Regions from separate parts of the Homo sapiens genome. Here region 1 is linked to region 2. Evidence: promoter capture Hi-C in human tissues and cell types (Jung and others, 2019). All regions are on one chromosome and are shown on one strand. The core of a region is centred on a gene start or on the middle of the fragment in contact, and the rest is flanking DNA. Distances in the headings are between cores, read along the strand shown. Region 1 overlaps RASSF5 (Ras association domain family member 5). Region 2 holds the start of IL10 (interleukin 10).

Region 1 (2,813 bases), core at 269-2,768, 230 kb after region 2:
AAGACAAGTACAAAAGGCACATTGTAACCAATTGCTCAAAACCAGTGTGATACAGTTTGGATATCTGTCCCCTCCAAATCGCATGTTGAAATCTGACCCCTCATGTTAGAGGTGGGGCCTGGCGGGAGGTGTCTAGGTTGAGGCGGCAGATCCCTTATGAATGTCTTGGTGCCCTCCCCATGGTAATGAGCATCTCGTATTGTTCCTTCATGTGAGAGCTGGTTGTTCAAAGGAGCTTGGCGCCTCCTCCTCTCTCTCTGGCTCCCTCTCTCACCATGTGACATGCCTGCTCTCCCTTCACCTTCCGCCATGAGTAAAGCCTCCTGAGGTCCTGATCAGAAGCCAAACAGATGTTGGTGCCATGCTTGTACCGTCTGCAGAACCATGAGTCAAACTCTGTTCTTTATACATTGCCCAGTCTCAGGTATACCTTCATAGTAACACAAAACAGACTAATACATAGCGATAAAAAGAAAAAAGAAGAATATGTTATATACAGAGGAGCAGAGATAAAGATACCAGTAAATTTATTGTTAGAAATAATGCAAGTGAGGAGGTAGTGAAGCAACATCTTCAAAATAATGAAAGAAAAAAAGTGCCAACCTAGAAATTTCTATCCCATAAAAATCTCTCAAAAAGGAAGGTGAAATTAGAACTTTTTCAGACATGGAAAGTTGAAAAAACTCATCATCAGCACACCCACAAATACAAGAAATGTTAAAGAAAGTCCTTCAGGCAGAAAGAAAATGATATCGGATGGAAACCTGGATCTACCAGAAGAAAAAAAAGTACCAGAAATGGTAACCAAATGAATAAACAATTTCTTATCATTTAAATCTCTTTAAAATATAATTGGCCATTTAAATAAAATAGTAACAATATTGTAAGGGGCTTATAGCAGTGGTCCCCAACCTTTTTGGCACCAGGGACTGGTTTTGTGGAAGACAATTTTTCCATGGACTGGGGTGGGGCTGGTGGTTTGGGGATGACTCAAGTGCATTACATTTATGGTGCACTTTATTTCTATTATTATTACATTGCAATATATAATGAAATAATTATACAACTCACCATCATGTAGAATCAGTGGGAGGCCTGAGCTTGTTTTCCTGCAACTAGATGGTCCCATCTGGGGGTGATGGGAGACAGTGACAGATCATCAGCCATTAGATTCTCATAAGGAGCACGCAACCTAGATCCCTCGCATGCGCAGTTCACAATAGGGTTCAGGCTCCTCCGAGAATCTAATGCTGCCGCTGGTCTACAAGGAGGCAGAGCTCAGGCTGTAAAGCAAGCCATGGGGAGTGGCTGTAAATACAGATGAAGCGTGGCTTGCTCTCCAACTGCTCACCTCCTGCTATGCAACCTGATTCCTAAAAGGCCATGTGTGTGGCCCTGGGGGCTGGGACCCCTGGCTTGTAGTATATGCGAAAATAAAATACAGGACAAGAATGGTACAAAGGTCTGTAGATGAGAAATGGAAGGATACTATCATTTTTGTCTTTTCTTTTCTTTTTTAAAATTTTTTTTGGTATAAAATAGAGACAGGGTCTCACTATGTTGCCCAGGCTGGTCTCGAGCTCCTGGGCTCAAATGACCCTCCTACCTCAGCCTCCCAAAGTGCTAGGATTACAGGTGTGAGCCACTGTGCCTAGCCAGGGTTTTATACTATACATGACATGGCATAGTATCATTTGACAGGTAGACTGTGATGAGCTAAAGATGTACAGATGGTTCCCTCCTTACAACGGTCCTACTTATGATTTCTCAACTTTAAGATGGTGCTAAAGAGATGCACATTTGATAGAAACCATAATTTAGGTCAGCATTCAATAAATTACATGAGATATTCAACACTTCATAAGAAAATAGGTTTGGTGTTAGATGATTTTGCCCAATTATAGGCTAATGTAAGTGTTCTGATCACATTTAAGATAGGCTAGGGTAAGCCATGTTGTTTGGTAGGTTAGGTGTATTAAATGCATTTTTGACTTCAGGTATTTTCAACTTTCAGTGGGTTTATTGGGATGTAATCCCATAAATTAAGGACCATTTATATACTGTAAATGCTAAGACAACCATTAAAATAACAAAACAAAGGGTTAAAGCTTGTAGGCAACAAATGGGATAAAATGCAATCATAAAGTACATTCAAGTAGTCCAAAAGAAGGCAAGAAAGAAAAAAAGAAAAAGTGAACCAAGAACAGATAGAATACTCATAGAAAACCAATAGCTGGCCGGGTGCGGTAGCTCATACCCATAATCCCAGCACTTTGGGAGGCTGAGGTGGGAGGATCACTTGAGCCCCTGATCACTTGAGACCAGGCTGGGCAACATGGCGAAACCCGGTCTCTACGAAAAGTACAAAAAAGTCAGCCAGGTGTGGTGGTGCATGTGTAGTCCCAGTTCCTCGAGAGGCTGAAGTGGAGGATCACCTGAGCTTGGGGAGGTTGAAGCTGCAGTGAGCCATGATTGTGTCACTGCACTCCATCCTGGGTGACCGAATGAGATCCTGTCCCAAAAAAAAAAAAAAAAAAAAAAAAAAAAAAAAAAAAATAGAAAAAGAAGAAAGAAAAGAAAAAAAGTAGTAAGAAGATAGACTTAAAATCTAGCTATATCGTGAGCCGAGATCGCGCCACTGCACTCCAGCCTGGGTGACAGAGCAAGACTGTCTCAAAAAAAAAAAAAAAAATCTAGCTATATCAATAATCACATTAAATGCAAATGATCTAAATACTCAAAGGGTAGAGATGAGCAGATTGGTTTAAAAAAAAACAAGATCCAACTATTTGCTGCCTATAAGAAATGATCTT
Region 2 (2,793 bases), core at 294-2,793:
CTGATGCAGAAAGGTGAAGAACTAGCAGAACACTGGAAATGCCCTCCATCTGGGTCCATGGCTACTTAAGCTCAATGCTCCCTGGCAGGCAGGAGGACAGGTGCTATTGCCCTGTTGGGACAGATGAAAAACAGACACAGGGAGGATGAGTGATTTGCCCTGACTATAGAGTGGCAGGGCCAAGGCAGAGCCCAGGCCTCCTGCACCTAGGTCAGTGTTCCTCCCAGTTACAGTCTAAACTGGAATGGCAGGCAAAGCCCCTGTGGAAGGGGAAGGTGAAGGCTCAATCAAAGGATCCCCAGAGACTTTCCAGATATCTGAAGAAGTCCTGATGTCACTGCCCCGGTCCTTCCCCAGGTAGAGCAACACTCCTCGCCGCAACCCAACTGGCTCCCCTTACCTTCTACACACACACACACACACACACACACACACACACACACACACACAAATCCAAGACAACACTACTAAGGCTTCTTTGGGAAGGGGAAGTAGGGATAGGTAAGAGGAAAGTAAGGGACCTCCTATCCAGCCTCCATGGAATCCTGACTTCTTTTCCTTGTTATTTCAACTTCTTCCACCCCATCTTTTAAACTTTAGACTCCAGCCACAGAAGCTTACAACTAAAAGAAACTCTAAGGCCAATTTAATCCAAGGTTTCATTCTATGTGCTGGAGATGGTGTACAGTAGGGTGAGGAAACCAAATTCTCAGTTGGCACTGGTGTACCCTTGTACAGGTGATGTAATATCTCTGTGCCTCAGTTTGCTCACTATAAAATAGAGACGGTAGGGGTCATGGTGAGCACTACCTGACTAGCATATAAGAAGCTTTCAGCAAGTGCAGACTACTCTTACCCACTTCCCCCAAGCACAGTTGGGGTGGGGGACAGCTGAAGAGGTGGAAACATGTGCCTGAGAATCCTAATGAAATCGGGGTAAAGGAGCCTGGAACACATCCTGTGACCCCGCCTGTACTGTAGGAAGCCAGTCTCTGGAAAGTAAAATGGAAGGGCTGCTTGGGAACTTTGAGGATATTTAGCCCACCCCCTCATTTTTACTTGGGGAAACTAAGGCCCAGAGACCTAAGGTGACTGCCTAAGTTAGCAAGGAGAAGTCTTGGGTATTCATCCCAGGTTGGGGGGACCCAATTATTTCTCAATCCCATTGTATTCTGGAATGGGCAATTTGTCCACGTCACTGTGACCTAGGAACACGCGAATGAGAACCCACAGCTGAGGGCCTCTGCGCACAGAACAGCTGTTCTCCCCAGGAAATCAACTTTTTTTAATTGAGAAGCTAAAAAATTATTCTAAGAGAGGTAGCCCATCCTAAAAATAGCTGTAATGCAGAAGTTCATGTTCAACCAATCATTTTTGCTTACGATGCAAAAATTGAAAACTAAGTTTATTAGAGAGGTTAGAGAAGGAGGAGCTCTAAGCAGAAAAAATCCTGTGCCGGGAAACCTTGATTGTGGCTTTTTAATGAATGAAGAGGCCTCCCTGAGCTTACAATATAAAAGGGGGACAGAGAGGTGAAGGTCTACACATCAGGGGCTTGCTCTTGCAAAACCAAACCACAAGACAGACTTGCAAAAGAAGGCATGCACAGCTCAGCACTGCTCTGTTGCCTGGTCCTCCTGACTGGGGTGAGGGCCAGCCCAGGCCAGGGCACCCAGTCTGAGAACAGCTGCACCCACTTCCCAGGCAACCTGCCTAACATGCTTCGAGATCTCCGAGATGCCTTCAGCAGAGTGAAGACTTTCTTTGTGAGTATGATTCCTTCCTGTCCTTTCTCTCTTCCTGGGACTGCCTGAACTAGACATTCTCCTGGAACTATAAGAACCCTCCTCCTGCGCCTCCACCTCCATCCCCAACACCTATTCCCCCAAACTTAAATTCTTAAGAGAATCCTAGATCAAGCCATGGGTTTGGTGAGTTAAGCTAAGCCAGATGATACAGTAAATGTGCAGGAAACCTGCCTTATAAAGTAAATGCGTTCTCTCTCGTGCTGAGAAACTTATAAGATCCTGCTGGCGCTCTATACTTTATTGGCTAGGAGAAGTAAAGAAATGTCTGATTCGAGGTGAAGATGCTCCCCATGCCTTGCAGCAGGGAAATTTAAATTGCCTCTGCTTAGAGCGTTTCCAGACCTGAAAGACCAGTGGTTTAGGGAAGCACTCTACATGAGGGAAACCTGCATTAGAAGGAGCTTCTTAATCCCTGGGATCTTTCCAAGCTAAACTGGATGTCTACAGTGGGGAGAAAGAAAAGCAGAGAACAGGACATGAGGGGGGCTCAAGGCCCCGAAGGGTTGACATAGGTGTCCCTTAAAGCCGAATGTAGCTCCGCAGAAAGAAGACCAGGACTGAGTCAAGCTTCTGCTTTCCCTTCAAAATCGGCCAGATTTTTTAAATAACTTGACTCTGAGGAGGAGGACCTGATTTAAGTGATGGTCCCATCACTGTTGAATCCTCTGTTTTTAAAACTCCCCTTTTGATTTTTTTGGGCCAGAGCCAATTTTATTTAAAAAAAAAAATCTCTAAATGAAAGGGCATCAAAAAGACCGCATTTCAGTTATTTCCCCAAACCTCAAGTTCATTCTCCTTTTGTTCTTCCTGCAGCAAATGAAGGATCAGCTGGACAACTTGTTGTTAAAGGAGTCCTTGCTGGAGGACTTTAAGGTGAGAGCAGGGGCGGGGTGCTGGGGGAGTGTGCAGCATGATTAAGGGAAGGGAGACTCTGCTTCCTGATTGCAGGGAATTGGGTTTGTTTCCTTCGCTTTGAAAAGGAGAA

The links. Contacts are between HindIII fragments. The study calls those that stand out against the background at their distance.
Region 1: a contact is called between a fragment that was not itself captured here and the fragment with the promoter of IL10 in region 2, in 1 of the 25 tissues and cell types used here (bladder).

What each region holds. Positions count from the first base shown.
Region 1 is chr1:206,545,833-206,548,645 of GRCh38, reverse strand. The region is part of intron 2 of RASSF5 (Ras association domain family member 5); the gene reads right to left. Among named protein-coding and RNA genes, the nearest start is that of RASSF5, 40 kb to the right of the region's middle. The HindIII fragment of the contact is 6,695 bases long and covers 1-2,813 here.
Region 2 is chr1:206,771,244-206,774,036 of GRCh38, reverse strand. IL10 (interleukin 10) reads left to right here and starts at 1,543. Exons shown (of 5, transcript NM_000572.3): 1 at 1,543-1,766; 2 at 2,622-2,681. The coding sequence starts at 1,602. All of the region lies in intron 1 of IL19 (interleukin 19), which reads right to left. RefSeq lists cis regulatory regions at 1,293-1,832, 1,293-1,914. The HindIII fragment of the contact is 3,211 bases long and covers 1-1,602 here.